Linked DNA regions of Homo sapiens: regions 1, 2, 3, 4 and 6 are each linked to region 5. Evidence: promoter capture Hi-C in 16 types of primary human blood cells and fetal thymus (Javierre and others, 2016). All regions are on one chromosome and are shown on one strand. Each heading gives the region's core, a stretch centred on a gene start or on the middle of the fragment in contact. The rest is flanking DNA. Distances are from core to core; before and after follow the strand shown. Region 1 overlaps BAZ1B (bromodomain adjacent to zinc finger domain 1B). Region 2 overlaps BAZ1B (bromodomain adjacent to zinc finger domain 1B). Region 3 overlaps BCL7B (BAF chromatin remodeling complex subunit BCL7B). Region 4 overlaps BAZ1B (bromodomain adjacent to zinc finger domain 1B). Region 5 holds the start of DNAJC30 (DnaJ heat shock protein family (Hsp40) member C30). Region 6 overlaps BAZ1B (bromodomain adjacent to zinc finger domain 1B).

Region 1 (2,700 bases), core at 131-2,630, 240 kb after region 5:
GCTCCCAACAATGCTATTCACATTTATCTCTCTGCAGGTGAGGATGACAAATTGATCTTGTGTGATGAGTGTAATAAAGCCTTCCACCTGTTTTGTCTGAGGCCGGCCCTCTATGAAGTACCAGATGGTGAGTGGCAGTGCCCAGCTTGCCAGCCCGCTACTGCCAGGCGCAACTCCCGTGGCAGGTGAGAATCTTTTCTTTTAAAAATAATTGAATGAATAAATATGAATAGCTGTTATAATTAAGCTTGAGTTATTCAAACAGAATGAATCTAAGGAGCTTTAAGTTCATCTTTTGGGTACAGAGCCTGATCATTTACAGTACTTCAATAGGAGCTCAAAGGACTCTGAGCTAATTTTAGCTGAATGTTGACATTTCTAGTTTTCACTGCCAGCCACATTCTCTGTCTTCTTGATCATACCTTCTTCTCAAGTAATGAAATCTCTCTCTCTGCCTTTAGCCTCCTGTTGCCCACTTCCTGTGTCTTCATGATTACTTCTGCTATCACCCACTGCTAAAAATCTCACACTCATTACCTTCCTTACCGATACATAATGTTTTCTTCCCTATCATGAGTAGAACTTGGGTGTCAACTTGGAAATGAACATCTCTCCCTCATCCTACAAACCCATTAATTTGCCATGATATCAATCCAATGCCCAGATGTTTGATGATCCAGTTTCTTGCTCTCCATTCTCCGTGGTCTCCGCTATCATTTGTCCCTTCTACATCTGTCACCTGGGCTCCTTTGGTGGCTTCTCAACTCCTCTTTCTTATATCACGTCTTCTCCCCTCTTATCCACCCAACTATTGCAACACCAGAATGCTGTACACAAAGCAAAGATCTGCTCACATTCCTGATCACAAACTTCTAGTCTTCCCATTGCCTCTAGAATAACATCCCAATTCCTGGCCTCACTTCTGAGACTCTTACACAATACCAGCTTGGGTTTTTATTAGCTTTAGATCCCATATTTGTGTACTTGTTACAGACCGTTTGTTGTTCATCCTTGCCTCTTGTGCCTTTCTCCCAGCTGGGAACATTCTCTGCCCAGAATTCCCAGTGGGTAAACTGCCCATGGCTTCGCTAAAATTTCACTGCGCTTTTGAAAAGTGCTTGCATCCTTAGGCTTCATGGTTTCTCCTCTGTGTTCAGCTGAACCTCCATTCTCTGAAGTAGTATTTTGGTGCATGGATCTTGTCTCTGGTTTTATACATGTCTGTCTCCCATGAGATTATGAATGCCCTGAGAGTAGAGGTGGTGCTTTGTTTTTTTACTTGAATCTCAATAAGGCCAAATACCGGGCCTTGTAAAGAGGAGACACCTTGTACTTGCCAAGATAATACTGTTGTTTTCCACACTGAAATTTGGGGTTGTAAAATGTGCAGCTTATAGGTACTCTGGCTTGGGCTTCTTTTTTGAGACGGAGTTTCGCTCTTGTTGCCCAGGCTGGAGTACGATGGCGCGATCTCGGCTCACTGTAACTTCCACCTCCCAGGTTCAAGCGATTCTGCTGCCTCAGCCTCCCGAGTAGCTAGGACTACAAGCATGCGCCACCACACCCAGCTCATTTTGTATTTTTAGTAGAGATGGGGTTTCTCCATGTTGGTCAGGCTAGTCTCGAACTCCCGACCTTAGGTGATCCGCCTGCCTCAGCCTCCCAAAGTGCTGGGATTACAGGCGTGAGCCACGGTGCCCGGCCTGGGCTTCCTTCTAAGGGGCAGAGCTGTTTGATCCTGACCCCACCTTAACAGTATTAGCAGGTTCTTTTGCACTCCATCCCAGCTGCACTTAGAGATGAGACATGTTGCTCTGAAATGGTGGGGCTTTGGACCAGCTGTTCCGAGCTGGGATTACCACTGCTTTGATATTATGGTCATCTGCAAGCTGTTTCAGCTCCTGGAAGGGGGCCATCAAGGTGAAGTCACACCTGTCTGGGCTCTGTTTATTCTTTTCAGTCTACCTCAGAGGTGGGGACAGCTTTTAGTAACTGATGTATTACATTATCTGGCTCTTTTTGTGAGACAAAAGAAACAGTGTTTTGTATTGCTTTGTGTGGGGAAGGGTAGGATTGCATTTTGGTCTTAATTTCTGTTGCCTTTGGTATCTTGTCCAAACTGTCTGTGGCCTGGCAGAAGGAGGCATGAGGCATGCTGTTGAAACTTGGTTTTTCATTTTTATGAAAAACTCTCCTGGCTTACATTCAGGTTCCCTCCCTGAATTATCATACGTTATACATATGTAGTCTGTGAAGAGAAGTTTCCTGATCCCTGTGGGATTTGAGCCCTTCTTAGGACCACTTTGGGCTAAAACTGTGTTCCCTACATTATTTTTTCTACCCACAGGAACTATACTGAAGAGTCTGCTTCTGAGGACAGTGAAGATGATGAGAGTGATGAAGAGGAGGAGGAGGAAGAAGAGGAGGAGGAGGAAGAAGATTATGAGGTGGCTGGTTTGCGATGTAAGTATTTTGTCTGCCTTTGTAGTTGATTTCACAGTCTTCTAAGCTTGGAACGCTTGGAAAGGCTGGCTTGGCAGTAGGTAGTGTGGCCGGCTTGCCCTATTCCTTTTCTCTTGTGTTGTGACTGTGGCGTAACTTAGCTGCCATGGGTTTAAATGGGTTTCCAAGATGGCGTTTAACTTCCTGCCTGGTGGGAGAGAAGGTGGCTTGATCTCAGTAACATCAACCCACTTGCTC
Region 2 (2,700 bases), core at 54-2,553, 220 kb after region 5:
AAATTAGCCAGGTGTGTTGGTGTGTGCCTGTAATCCCAGCCACTCGGGAGTCTGAGGCAGGGAGAATTGCATGAACCTGGGAGGCAGAGGTTTCAGTGAGCTGAGATTGTACCACTGCACTCCAGCCTGGGCGACAGAGCGAGACTCTATCTCAAAAAACAAAACGAAACAAAACAAAAAACCAAATATTGTGATGATCTAAGATAGGCTTTGATAAATTGGCTCAAGATATATCTATGTTAAAGTCACGTATCAGTATATAGGAACTGATTTACAAAAAAGTTAGTTGTATTATTTGACACTTGAAGCCTCCAAGGATAAGTCTATAGTATTTATATGTTCTCATTACCTCTGCTTCACTACAGATGCCTTTGCTCTTAACATCATGTAAAAGGAGTAAATTCTTTATTTTGCTTTGATATAAAGATATTTAGTCATTCTTCATTCTAAGTTGCAGTACCCCTAAACTTTGGAACTGTGTAACGATTCCACTTCAGAGAGCAAATATCTGAGATAACATGCTGTGTTTAAGATATTTAAGAGAAATTAGCATCTTTTATACATGAAGATATATTTGATATATTTCACAGGAAGTATCTGTGTTGTTACAAATTGTTGAGTTTGGCACTGTGTACTGCTTAGATTTGAAACTAGCAATTGGGTATTTACTAAAGTCAACCTAATGTCTCAATTTTTCTTAGGTAAGAAAGCAAACTTAGGTAAAAATGCAAGCATGAACACACAACATGGAACAGCAACAGAAGTTGCTGTAGAGACAACCACACCCAAACAAGGACAGAACCTATGGTAATGTGAGCATTCATCTGGTTGCTCTTTCTTTTTCCTTTTAATTGTTAAGGAAGAAAGTATTTAGTATAGTGATGCCAGTGAGTTAATAATTATTTGCGCAGGATACTTTGTGTGACTGATATTTTGGATATCAAAACTTCTTGCATTAGCAGACCTGATTTTTTGTTAAGAAGATACTTGTTTTTTTAAGGGTTGGAATTTTGATTTTTTCCCCCCTGTAATATAACTTTGTATATTATGTGATAGATCTTATATAGCAGTAGAAATGTAGCTTAAATTTGGTTGGGAATAGAAGTATTTAAGATTTTCCTTAAATTTTATTAATTAACAAATTGTATGCATAGCTATTCGTTTCCTTTATGCGCATTTCTGCTTTTAGGCAGCGAGCTAGGTTTTAGAGGATCCATTCTACGGCTTTAACTGTGATCACCTGTGATTTAATGACCTTTCATTTTTGAATTTTGGGTATAGGTTTACTCTCTGGAGGGAAAGGGACAAGTATGCCAATTAACTTTATAAAATTTCATATAATATTTTAATAGGAACCATATTGGCTCTGGTGTCCTAGTACAGAATTAACATTAGGCATCATGAAAATAGTAAATTACTTATTCTACTTCTAGATAGTAGATTGTGAACACATTTGGAATTCTGTTCTCCCAAGTCCCACCACCAACTCTAGATCCCTTGCTTAGTGTTTGATTTTGAATTTTTTTTTTTTTTTCAGAGTTATCAGGTCTCTTTTGCCCCTACAGGTTTTTATGTGATAGTCAAAAGGAGCTGGATGAGTTGCTAAACTGTCTTCACCCTCAGGGAATAAGAGAAAGTCAACTTAAAGAGAGACTAGAGAAGAGGTAAGAGGTTTTCATCTTACTCCTCACATCTTACTTCTCTTTAGCATTGGATATAAATATCTGAGGGTTTTTTTTCTTATCCATTTAAGTTACTAAAGTAAAATATTTTAAATGTGTAACCGTTTTGTGTTCATATTGCCTGGTATTTTCTTGGCATATTATGCTTATTGGAAAAATATACCTTTGGCCATCTATATATAGAGTAGCAGGATTATTATGCACTAAAGAACAGTTGCCAGCACCAAGCTGTGAGCCTCATGGTTGTCAGACAGCTTTGCAGATGGAGGCCCAGATGGGTGGGTGTCCAGAAGTATTCTATCAATATTCAGAAGAGCCAAAAGGTGGAAACAACGGCAATGACTATCAACTGATGGAACGGATAAATAAAAGTTAGTATATATCCAGGCCTTGTGCGGTGGCTCACACCTGTAATCCCGGCACTTTGAGAGGTAAAGGCAGGCCAGTGTCTTGCATCCAGGAGTTTTGAGACCAGCCTGGGCAACATAGGGAAACTCCGTTTCTGAAAAAAAAAAACAAAACAAAAATTATCTTGGGTGTGGTGGTTTGTGTATGTAGTCTTAGCTACTTGGGAGGCTGAGCTGAGTTGATCACTTGAGCCCAGGAGGCGGAGGTTGCATTGAGCCAAGATCATGCCCCTGCACTCTGGCCTGGGTGAGAGAGCGAGATGCTGTCTCATACAAAATGAAACAAAAAACCCCCAAAATTTAGTATATTCAAATAGTGGAATATTATTTAGCCACAAAAAGAAATGAAGTACTGTTCTGTGCTACAACATGAATGAACCTAGAAAACATGCTAAGCAAAAGAAGTCAGACATCAAAGGCCATGTGGTGTATGATTCCATTCAAATGAAACATCTTAGAATAGGCAAATCTATTTCAAACAGAAAGTGGATTAGTGGTTGCCAGAGGATAGGGGAAGGGGAGAATAGGAGTGATGATTGCTAACAGGTAAGAGATTCCTGCTTGGGGTGATGAAAATGTTTTGGAATTACATGTGTGGTTCTACAACAAAA
Region 3 (2,700 bases), core at 161-2,660, 140 kb after region 5:
TAGTAGAGATAGGGTTTCACAATGTTGGCCAGGCTGATCTTGAACTCCTGACCTCAGGTGATCCATGCGTCTTGGCCTCCCAAAGTGCTGGGATTACAGGCGTGAACCAGTGCGCCCGGCTGGGGTGGTCGTTTTGAATGGATGAGGATGACGGATCAGGAATAGAGCCAGCCTGGGCCCATTTGTCCTGTCACTGTCTGTGTTACATGAGGTTCCTTCTTCTCTCACTTTTTCCCCACTCTGCTACTGAAACAGGAATCTTTCTCAAATGAGTGTTTTGTATTTCTTGCCCATTCGTATAGAGAAGGGTTGCCTGGCGCAATTTGATCAGGGCAGGAGAGGGATACTATGGGATGTTCTAGTCGAAGTGTATGTATCTGCCTGTTGCTTATGATTCACAGTATTCCTGCTGGAAGGGTTCATTTTTCTGAGGCTTGAGGAGAAGTTGCTTGTCCAGGATTCTGTTCTTCCTTGGGTCCTTGGATTCTCACGCTGCTGTCGTTTTTCCTGTTCAGTCCTAATCCAGACCTCTGTGGTCTGTCACATAGCACCCTCCTCCCTCTCTGTGAGTCTCCTGCTTGGCTCTGTCATATTCCTCTTTTTTTCCTTTTCTAGAAAGAAAAGTCAAAATCGAACAGTTCAGCAGCCCGAGAACCTAATGGCTTTCCTTCTGATGCCTCAGCCAATTCCTCTCTCCTTCTTGAATTCCAGGGTGAGTTGCATCTCTGTGTCTTCCTTGCAGGAGAATGAAAACTTGGATGAATGCATTAATAAGAAGAATTGGCCAGGTGCAGTGACTCACACCTGTAACCTCAGCACTTTGGGAGTCTGAGGCGGGCAGATCACCTGAGGTCAGGAGTTCAAGACGAGCCTGGCCAATATGGTGAAACCCAGTCTCTACTAAAAATACAAAAAGTTAGCTGAGCGTGGTGGCGCGTGCCTGTAATCCCAGCTACTCGGGGGTCTGAGACAGGAGAATCGCTTAAACCCAGGAGGTGGAGGTTGCGGTGAGCCGAGATTGCGCCACTGCACTCCAGCCTGGGCTGCAGAGTGAGACTCCGTCTCAAAAAAAAAAAAAAAGAATTCTGTGTATCAATTCAGTGCCTGCTGTTTCGCTGGTATTTTGCGAGGCACTTGACCTAAATCTTTTCATTTAAACTTCACGATAACTCTGCAAGATAGGTAATGGTATTCTCATTTTCCAGTTAAGGAAACTGAGGCTCAGAGAGGTTAAGTTACGTGTCTAAAGTTACATAACTTGTAAGTGACAGACTCCATGTCAGGTCCTGGTTGTCCGAATCAGAAGCTTTTTTTTAGATTGTACTTCATTTTTTATTTTTTATTTTTTGTAGAGACAGAGTCTGGCTATGTTGTCCAGGCTGGTTGTGAACTCCTGGCCTCAAGCAGTCCCCCAGCCTTGACCTCCCAAGGTACAAGCATGAGCCACTGCACCTGGCCTAGACTGTATGTTTTATCATAGTCGCTTAGAGTAGGCTACCCAAAGCCGAAGCTTCTGCTTACCCACTGTTAGGACATGTTCTGCCTCCTAAACCAATCCCGCCGGATCATCACCGTAGTCATGATACTGCCTTTTACACCTACCTGCTAGGTACTGTCTACGAAGCACTTTTACTTTACTTTCTCATTTTTACCCATGTATCAGCCTGTGATATAAACCAGGCAGTTATTATCATCCCTATTTAAGGAAACTGATGCTCAGGGAGGAACAGTGTTTTGTCTAAGCTCAAAAGTGACAGTTTTATTCATTTGGTGACAAAATGCTACTTCCATTTTAGTGTGGGTATTAAAGGTCTTTATAGGAGTCAAGACTAGCATGAGTTTATGACTTTCTCTTCAAAACCAGATTGGAGCTAACCCAGCGTGTAGTTATTCCTTCCCCACCTCTTTCCCAGGCCCCACCAAGGTCAACCATGTGCTGTTGGAAAGGGAACACCAACGTGTGTTCAGTAGTCAGAAGGCTCTGGGAGACATATGAGGCTCCATTTCCTCAGTCTGGCCACCATCTCCTCCTTTTCATTTAGTAAACACTTAATGAACTCCCACTGTATGCAGGTACCGTGCGTTGCACTGGGGAGTCAAGGACAAGTGAGCCACAGAGCCTGTCCACAGAGGCTCATGGGAGGAAGCACGTGTGCGAAATGATAAATGCAGGCGTGCACAGGCTATCACAGGAGAGTAAGAGAGGGTGGGCATTTCCACCTATGCGAGCCAGGGAGGTAGGGCTCCGCGGAAGAAGTGATGTCGGGGCTGTGTTGGGAGGTCTGAGGCTTTCCAGGACAAGAGAAGGCAGCCTAGCCAAGGAACAGCTGGGCAGAAGCACCCATGCATGACGAAGCTCTTGGGTTAGGGTCCAGTCTGCCTGGAGCTGAGGATGCTTGTAGGAGAACAGTAGGCACTGAGGCCAGAGATCAGAAAGGACTTCCTATGTTGCGATAAGGCCAGCTCCTGCCTCTCCTAAGAAGTACTGGGTATGGCTGGGCGTGGTGGCTCATGCCTGTAATCCCAGCACTTTGGGAGGCTGAGGCAGGTGGATTACCTGAGGTCAGGAGTTCGAGACCAGCCTGACCAACATGGTGAAACCCCGTCTCTAATAAAAATACAAAATTACCCAGGCGTGGTGGCGCAAGCCTGTAATCCCAGCTACTCAAGAGGCTGAGGCAGGAGAATCAGTTGAACCCA
Region 4 (2,700 bases), core at 175-2,674, 170 kb after region 5:
CAGTGGTGGACTGACTCTTAAACTTGTCTGAGTTTTCTGAAAATTTTGCTTACCTTACATTGTTATTTTTTATGACTTGTGTTTTAATGTACCTTTACTTTTTCTTATGAGTTTTTGGTACAGCGTAAGTCTTGTGTAATGAAACTTTGGTGAATTGAGGAAATCACATTTGTACTAAAATATTAATTTTTTTTGTAAAACACGAAAAACCATTTTTATTATTTTTTATTTTTATTTTTTGTAGAGATGAGGTCTCATCATGTTGCCCAGGCTGGTCTCGAACTCCTGGTCTCAAGTGATTGTCCTGCCGTGGCCTCTCAAAATGCTGAGATTAGAGACGTGATCATCCCAGTCTGTAAATCCCATGCAGGTGCCCAGCCCATGACAATCCATTCTCATTATACTTCAGTCTTAGTCATCTTGCTTTGGGCCCTGATTCCATTTTTTTCATTTTTTTTTATTTTTTTTAGTTTTTGAGACGGAGCCGCACTGTCTCCCAGGCTTGAGTGCAGTGGCGTGATCTTGGCTCACTGCAAGCTCCGCCTCCCGGGTTCACGCCATTCTCCTGCCTCAGCCTCCTGAGTAGCTGGGACTACAGGCGCCCACAACCACTCACAGCTAATTTTTTGTATTTTTAGTAGACACGGGGTTTCACCGTGTTAGCCAGGCTGGTCTCGATCTGACCTCGTGATCCGCCCGCCTCGGCCTCCCAAAGTGCTGGGATTACAGGCGTGAACCACTGCGCCCGGCCTCCAATTCCATTTTTATCCTCTCATGCTACACATTTTAAAAAGGAGACTAGATTTTTTTCTGTATATAAGTATCTTATGGGTATGGGTTTGTCGTCTCTGTTGCTTGCATATTGTTTTCCTGAACTACTGCCAACAGAGAGTATGAAGCCCGCTTGGAAAGGTACAGTGAGCGCATTTGGACGTGCAAGAGTACTGGAAGCAGTCAGCTAACACACAAGGAAGCCTGGGAGGAAGAACAGGAAGTTGCTGAGCTGTAAGTAATGGAAGTATTGCTCTTTGCCACCATCTTCACATTGTTAGGAAAGGAGGGAATATTAACCCTAAAGCAGTATGTGTATTTAAGTTTATGGGGCACAAATTAGACTATATTACATTAGTGTACTGTATGGGTTTCTGGGTTCCTTTGCCTAATGGCATTTTGCAGTAGCAATATGGAATATTTATTTAGTTATAGGTGCACTTGTTTAGGTATTTACCAGGCCTTTGAGTGTTCCTGCTCCATACTTTGACCTTGTAAGTACTCTGGTAATGTGGTTTATTCTTTTTTGCTTTTTCTTTTTTTGAGACGGAATCTCGCTCTCGCCCAGGCTGGAGTGCAGTGGCACGATCTCGGCTCACTGCAAGCTCCGCCTCCCGGGTTCAAGTGATTCTCCTGCCTCAGCCTCCCAAGTAGCTGGGACTACAGGTGCTCGCCACCAAGCCCGGATAATTTTTTGTAGTTTTAGTAGAGATGGGGTTTCACTATGTTAGCCAGGATGGTCTCAATCTCCTGACCTCGTGATCCTCCCGCCTTGGCCTCCCAAAGTGCTGGGATTACAGGCGTGAGCTACCGCGCCTGGCCCTTATTCTTATTTTTATTTTTGAGATGGAGTCTCACTCTGTTGCCCAGGCTGGAATGCAGGGGCACGATTTCGGCCCACTGTAACCTCTATCTCCTGGGTTCAAGTGATTCTCGTGCCTCAGCCTCCTGAGTAGCTGGGTCTACAGGCGCTCACCACCACGCCTGGCTAATTTTTGTGTTTTTAGTAGAGATGGGGTTTCACCATGTTAGCCAGGCTGGTCTCGAACTCCTGACCTCAAGCGACCTGCTCATTTCGGCCTCCCAAAGTGCTGGGATTACAGGCGTGAACCACTGCACCCAACCGGGTATGATAATTAAATTTTTTTTTTTTTTTGCTAGTTTAATAAGTGAAAAGTGTTAAATCATTGCTGTCCTTTTGCAACAGCTCTGGTGTTCAAGTCACGTTTCCAACATGTTAACGCTTCCTGGTTTCCTTTTTTTTAAGAGGCACAGTTTCGCTCTGTTGCCCAGGGTGGAGTGCAGTGGTATGCACATAGCTCCTGGGATCAAGCCAGCCTCTTGCCTCAGCCTCTTACGTAGCTGGAACTATAGGTGCATGCCACCTCACCCAGCTAATTATTTTAGTTTTTTATAGAGGCAGGTTCTCACTCTGTTGGCCAGGCTGGTCTCAAACTCCTGGGCTCAAGCAATCCTCCCACCTGTGCCTTTCAAAGTGCTGGGACCCACTGTGTCCAGCAAACTGCATGTTTTTTTTTAATCTTTGTATTCCCCAGTGCTTTACGTATATTTGCTAAAGCAGTGTTGTTTTGCTGTGAACCTAAAACTCGTAAAATGTTAAGTGTTTTTTTTTGTTTGTTTGTTTTTTGAGACTGAGTCTCTCTCTGTTGCCCAGGCTGGAGTGCAATGGTGTGATCTTGGCTCACTGCAACCTTCGCTTCCCGTGTTCAAGTGATTCTCCTGCCTCAGCCTCCCGAGTAGCTGGGATTACAGGCATGTGCCACCACGCCCGGCTAATTCTTGTATTTTGAGTAGAGACAGGGTTTCGCCATGTTGGCCAGGCTGGCCTTGAACTCCTGACCTCAGGTGATCTGCCCGCCTTGGCCTCCCAAAGTGCTAGGATTACAGGTGTGAGCCACCACGCCCAGC
Region 5 (2,700 bases), core at 61-2,560:
TTAGTAGAGCTGGAGTTTCGCCATGTTGGCCAGGCTGGTCTCGAACTCCTGACCTCAGGTGATCCGTCTGCCTCAGCCTCCCAAAGTGTTGCGATTACAGGCGTGAGACACCGCGCCAGCTTCCCCCCGCCCCCATCCCCCCCCCTTTTTTTTTTTTTTAACGACTCGAGGTGCGCTGGCTCACGCCTGCAATCCCAACAGTTCGGGAGACGAAGGCGGGAGGATCGCTTGAGCCCTGGGCTTGGGCCACCTTGGGCAACACAGCGAGACCCCATCGCAACAAAAATTTACAAAAAAAAGCCAGGCGTAGTGGCGCGCGCCTGTGGTCCCAACTACTGGAGAGGCAGAGGGGAGCCACCACACCCGGCTAATTTTTTTATTACTTGCGGAGACGGGGGCTCGCTACGTTGCCCAGGCTGGTCTCGAACCCCTGAGCTCAAGCGATCCTCCCGCCTCAGCCTCCCAAAGTGCTGCGATTGCTGAGATTACACGCGTGAGCCACTCCCACCTGGCTACAACTCAGTAGTTATACAAACTACCCTCTATGAAATTCAGACAATAATACACCAACTGCTGTCTTGGAGATTTATTGGCAACAAGGCGCCACGATAAGCATCCTACGGCCATTACTTCCTTCCCCCCACCAGGACTGACCCCTCGCCCGTACCCACCGCCCAGCGCCTCTTTTACCACATGTTTAGGACAAATTGTCACATTCGACTTTGAAAACCACCCACGGAAAGCAAGCGCGATCACCCCTACCTCAACGCTGAGGTACCGAGGCCCAGAGAGGTCGGCAACTTAAAGTTGATTTACCAGAGACAGAAATCGGCACCCACCCGGGTCCTTCCCTTCCCGCACCCCCAAATTCTACGGCCTTTCCGGGCAACGCCAGCAACAGGGGCAACTTGCCGCTTCCCGACCCCCGGACGCCCCGCAGTATTCAGGCTCCCCTCACTTGCGAACGTATTTCCGGGCTTCTGTCTCGTCATAAAACTGCGAAAAAGAGAAAATGGCATGTAGAGGAATAATTCAGACGCGGTGGCCGCAGAAGTGGGGAGAGGGGTGTCCGCGGGCCCCGGGACTTACCAGCTCTGGGGGTCCGCCATGCTCCGGACGCCGGCCGCGGGACGCCATTCTCACGCCTCAGCAGCACACCTGCGACTGGCGCCTGCCGGCACCCGGTTTTTATGTCATCAGCCCGGCGACCGCTTAGTAATACGCATGTTCCACCCCCACGACCGCCCCGCCCCCCCCTTTACGTGACTGGCCACAGGGCGACCAACCGACTCCTCTCATTGGCCGGTTTCTCTTGCACCGCCTGCCGAATCAATTCAACATGGCAGCCATGCGCTGGCGATGGTGGCAGCGGCTGTTACCTTGGAGGTTGCTGCAGGCCCGTGGCTTTCCACAAAATTCTGCACCCAGCCTGGGCCTAGGAGCGAGGACTTATTCCCAGGGCGACTGCTCGTATTCGCGCACGGCGCTGTATGATCTGCTCGGCGTCCCCTCCACAGCCACGCAGGCCCAAATCAAGGCGGCTTACTACCGTCAGTGCTTTCTCTACCACCCGGACCGCAACTCCGGGAGCGCGGAGGCCGCCGAGCGCTTCACGCGCATCTCCCAGGCCTACGTGGTGCTGGGCAGTGCCACCCTCCGTCGCAAGTATGATCGCGGCCTACTCAGCGACGAGGACCTGCGCGGACCTGGCGTCCGGCCCTCCAGGACGCCCGCACCCGACCCCGGCTCGCCGCGTACCCCGCCGCCCACCTCTCGGACCCACGACGGTTCTCGGGCCTCCCCCGGCGCCAACCGCACGATGTTCAACTTTGACGCCTTCTACCAGGCCCACTACGGGGAACAACTGGAGCGGGAACGGCGCCTGAGGGCCCGGCGGGAGGCCCTTCGCAAACGGCAGGAGTATCGGTCCATGAAAGGCCTCCGCTGGGAGGATACCCGAGACACGGCTGCCATTTTCCTCATCTTTTCAATCTTCATCATCATCGGCTTTTATATTTAATCGGAGAGAGAAGGGAAGGGGAGTGTCCCCAGCCAACCCCCCAGAAACGGCCTTTTTTCCTGCCTCTGAACCCTTGGCCATTGATAGTCTACCTTTGCTGGGATCCGAAGGAACTGTACTCCCCCTGCCCTCCCCGACCCGCCCAGCTTAGCCGATGACCTGCACATCGCTCCACTGTGGTCCAGAAAAGGAGGCCTTTCGATGTCTGAGAAAGAGGCCCCACGCTGTAGAGTCCCGAAAGCCCAGGAGTGAAGGGGGTTCCTGGAGTCTCTAGGGTGCTTCTTCCAGAGTCTGTCTTCTTGCTTCCAGATGTGGTCAACTTCTGGAACACTCGCTGTAGCTTTATTGTTTAGCCCCAAGCAAGATTTATCTCCTCCTGCCCCGCATGTGTATGGTGGGCCTCTGTAACCTTGAAATGTGCAATGTGACCAATTGTTGACTACCAAAAGAAAAGGTCTGGGGTTGTACGAAACTTGTCTTTCTGTGACTTCCCCAAGCCGCAGGTGAGACCTGGTCCAGGGTAAGAATGGGATCGGTGGAGAGCCTGTCGTTCCTCCCGCTAAGGTCAGCCCCCTGGGGCACTCCTCCTTATGTTGATAGCATGTAGGAGTGAGAAAAAGTCATTGAGCATAAGGAATGAGTGTTCCTGTGCCCATATTTAATGTGTGACCTTGGAGAAG
Region 6 (2,700 bases), core at 136-2,635, 200 kb after region 5:
GCAGGTTTTGAACTCTAACATCAGATAATGAATTAAAAATTTTTCAGGTATATCTGTTACATACAGGTTGTTATGTGAGGTTGGTAGGGGAGAGGCCACATTTAATATCTTCCCCAGTTCAATTTATTTTTTATTATGCTAGCATAATTTTAAAAGTCTATATACATGTGCTTTTGTGCCTCAGACCCTTTTTGGAATGAGGTATGGTATAAATATAAAAAGTATTTTGTTAACCAGTTACCAAGAATGAAAACTGATTTTGCATGTCGGACAAGATGATCACATACAGTGGCAGCCTTGAAAAGAACCTGGAATGAGGAGCAGTGTGTGTGATAGATTAGTGGAAAACCTAGTATTTTCCTCTTGAAGAGTAAGTTTTTTTTGTTTTTTTTTTTTTTTTGAGTTGGAGTCTCGCTCTGTCACCCAGGCTGGAGTGCAGTAGTGCGATCTCGGCTCACTGCAACCTCCTTCTCCTTCTTCTCAGCCTCCTGAGTAGCTGGGATTACAGGCATGTGCCACCACACCTGGCTAATTTTTCTATTTTTAGTAGAGATGGGGTTTTGCCGTGTTGGCCAGGCTAGTCTTGAGCTCCTGACCTCAAGTGATCCGCCTGCCTCGGCCTCCCAAAGTGCTGGGATTACAGATGTGAGCCACCATGCCTGGCCGAGAAGGAGTAATTTTTAAAATCCTCACTTTTGATTTTCCAAATATTTTTATGAAGTTATATGGTACATATATATATTTCATTTTACAGATGGGGTATCTGAGGCCTAGTCTAATCAGAACCAACAGAAAGTGATGACAAGACTTAAGACACTGGCCTAGGATTTCTGATTTTCTTTTCCATTTCAAGCTTTACCTGTTAAAGTGGTTTTTTAATGTAGGTTTTGAAAGTACTTAATGCTTCTTTCATTGGTAAATGTAACGCAGCATACTGGCTGATAATTTTCATCTTGGTCTCTGGGCCAGCGTAGAACCAGAAAAGGGCTCTTGATCCATTAAAACTAGGTCACATTTCCAGGATTTCTTTTTTTCCCATTTCATTTAATTATGAAAATATAAAGACATCTGAAGTCATAACAACTAAATTTGTTCAATTATCTTAAGTTGATTATGGTGACAAAAGCATATTGAAAAGTAATTTTATTTCTCCAAAACATTAGTAAAGACCTCCAGTCATGGTTTTAGCACTTAGCAGATTTTCTTATTCTAGACCAGCAAGATAAGTGGTGTCTTCTGTTATGCTCTTTAAATTATTATTATTTGCTTAAAAGGAAAAATTTAGAAAGTAATTGGCTTTTTCTAGATCAGGACTAAATTTTCCATGGAACTATAATTTTTTTCTCAGATGTTTGTTTTTGTTTGTTGAGGAGAAATTTTGAGTTCACTGTCATTTTGTTGCCACAGAGTTTGGAACCATGATTCAGCTTTCTGTGGTCTTCACATGAGATTCCTATCTTCGCTATATGAGAACTCCATGAAACCATCTCTAAATGGGTTTTAGACTAATTCTTGGATTACTTGAGTCCTTAATATTTTCCTCTTTTCTAATCTTACAGCTCTGTTTTATGTATTTTAGTTTAGTGATTCAAGTATGTGAATAATGTGAAAGACTCTTTTTATGGGTAAAATATTTTTTGAGTTTCCTAAGACATAAAAGCTGATCCACACTTATTTCTTACTTTAGAGACAGGGTCTTGCTCTGTTACCCAGGCTGGAGTGCAGTGGGACAATCACAGTTCACTGCAGCCTGAAATTTCTGGGCTCAAGTGATCCTCCTCCCTGTGTCTCACTAGTAGCTGGGGACTACAGGCACGTACCACCACGCCCAGCTGATCCACAATTTTTGTAGGAGAGAGAGACTAGAACTCCAGGAACTTAAAACCTGAAAGGCAATTTCTGAAGAAATAAGCTTCTCCCAGAATTTCTAGTGGGGGCTTAACTTACTAATGTTATGAAATTTGGCTATAATTTAGGTTAAGACTAGGAAATGGAAGCTTGCTTAAAGTGCTGGAAGATGGCAGTGATTTTACTCAGAAAACTTAAGACTCATGTAAAATACTGGTCTACAAAGTTAAAGGCATATACTCAGGTTTATTATTTGTTTTCCCTACCTTAAACAATAATTTCTTATTTCCTAATACTATCTGACATGTCACTGATTGTTTTCTGTATATAAGCTGTGTTTTTCCTATTTATAAAATTAGGACTTTGGCTTCTCAGCCAGGGCAAAACATAGTAACACAGATGATAAGTAGAACCTAAAACATTGCTTTGTTTTCTTTCTTTTTCTAGAAGAAATTTAAAATAATCTGTTGAGGATTAAAGTTGATCACATAGGACCCATCCATCCAAAGGCATGGGATGTTTTCTCTCTCTGTATACTCTTTGGTTTTTGTAGAATGTAATGTTCTGTCAGGCTCTGAGTACATTTACTGTAGAGTGAGACCAGGTGTAAAGAGAGTGAGTTCTGAGCAATAGTTTTAGCAGGCCAGGCGCAGTGGCTCACGCCTGTAATCCTAGCACTTTGGGAGGCCGAGTTGGGCGGATCACGAGGTCAGGAGATCGAGACCATCCTGGCTGACATGGTGAAACCCCGTCTCTACTAAAAATACAAAAAATTAGCCGGGCGTGGTGGCGGGCACCTGTAGTCCCAGCTACTCGGGAGGCTGAGGCAGGAGAATGGCATGAACCTGGGAG

What was found. The method cuts DNA at HindIII sites, captures the fragments that hold promoters and counts their contacts. A CHiCAGO score of 5 or more calls a contact.
Region 1: a fragment that was not itself captured here is called in contact with the fragment with the promoter of DNAJC30 in region 5 in 5 of 17 cell types (total CD8 T cells, activated CD4 T cells, erythroblasts and 2 more); the score reaches 6.5 in total CD8 T cells.
Region 2: a fragment that was not itself captured here is called in contact with the fragment with the promoter of DNAJC30 in region 5 in 2 of 17 cell types (M0 macrophages and naive CD8 T cells); the score reaches 6.7 in M0 macrophages.
Region 3: a fragment that was not itself captured here is called in contact with the fragment with the promoter of DNAJC30 in region 5 in 11 of 17 cell types (naive CD4 T cells, total CD8 T cells, total CD4 T cells and 8 more); the score reaches 8.9 in naive CD4 T cells.
Region 4: a contact is called between a fragment that was not itself captured here and the fragment with the promoter of DNAJC30 in region 5, in 6 of 17 cell types (naive CD8 T cells, activated CD4 T cells, neutrophils and 3 more). The highest score is 7.8, in naive CD8 T cells.
Region 6: a fragment that was not itself captured here is called in contact with the fragment with the promoter of DNAJC30 in region 5 in 10 of 17 cell types (naive CD4 T cells, monocytes, total CD8 T cells and 7 more); the score reaches 9.7 in naive CD4 T cells.

The regions. Positions count from the first base shown.
Region 1 is chr7:73,447,027-73,449,726 of GRCh38, reverse strand. BAZ1B (bromodomain adjacent to zinc finger domain 1B) reads left to right here. Exons shown (of 20, transcript NM_032408.4): 15 at 38-185; 16 at 2,348-2,463. Among named protein-coding and RNA genes, the nearest start is that of FZD9, 15 kb to the right of the region's middle. The HindIII fragment of the contact is 2,262 bases long and covers 250-2,511 here.
Region 2 is chr7:73,464,403-73,467,102 of GRCh38, reverse strand. BAZ1B (bromodomain adjacent to zinc finger domain 1B) reads left to right here. Exons shown (of 20, transcript NM_032408.4): 10 at 702-807; 11 at 1,566-1,664. Among named protein-coding and RNA genes, the nearest start is that of FZD9, 32 kb to the right of the region's middle. The HindIII fragment of the contact is 4,496 bases long and covers 1-2,700 here.
Region 3 is chr7:73,541,560-73,544,259 of GRCh38, reverse strand. It overlaps BCL7B (BAF chromatin remodeling complex subunit BCL7B), which reads left to right. Exons shown (of 6, transcript NM_001707.4): 3 at 616-712. Among named protein-coding and RNA genes, the nearest start is that of BCL7B, 15 kb to the left of the region's middle. The HindIII fragment of the contact is 204 bases long and covers 1,309-1,512 here.
Region 4 is chr7:73,509,041-73,511,740 of GRCh38, reverse strand. BAZ1B (bromodomain adjacent to zinc finger domain 1B) reads left to right here. Exons shown (of 20, transcript NM_032408.4): 2 at 889-1,005. Among named protein-coding and RNA genes, the nearest start is that of BAZ1B, 12 kb to the left of the region's middle. The HindIII fragment of the contact is 3,762 bases long and covers 1-2,700 here.
Region 5 is chr7:73,682,063-73,684,762 of GRCh38, reverse strand. It overlaps DNAJC30 (DnaJ heat shock protein family (Hsp40) member C30), which reads left to right and starts at 1,310. Exons shown (of 1, transcript NM_032317.3): 1 at 1,310-2,700. The coding sequence starts at 1,340. The coding sequence ends at 2,020. It overlaps BUD23 (BUD23 rRNA methyltransferase and ribosome maturation factor), which reads right to left and starts at 1,166. Exons shown (of 12, transcript NM_017528.5): 1 at 1,090-1,166; 2 at 959-996. The coding sequence starts at 1,137. RefSeq lists enhancers at 1-458, 1,389-1,558, 1,799-1,888. The HindIII fragment of the contact is 21,940 bases long and covers 1-2,700 here.
Region 6 is chr7:73,486,415-73,489,114 of GRCh38, reverse strand. All of the region lies in intron 6 of BAZ1B (bromodomain adjacent to zinc finger domain 1B), which reads left to right. Among named protein-coding and RNA genes, the nearest start is that of BAZ1B, 35 kb to the left of the region's middle. The HindIII fragment of the contact is 1,059 bases long and covers 856-1,914 here.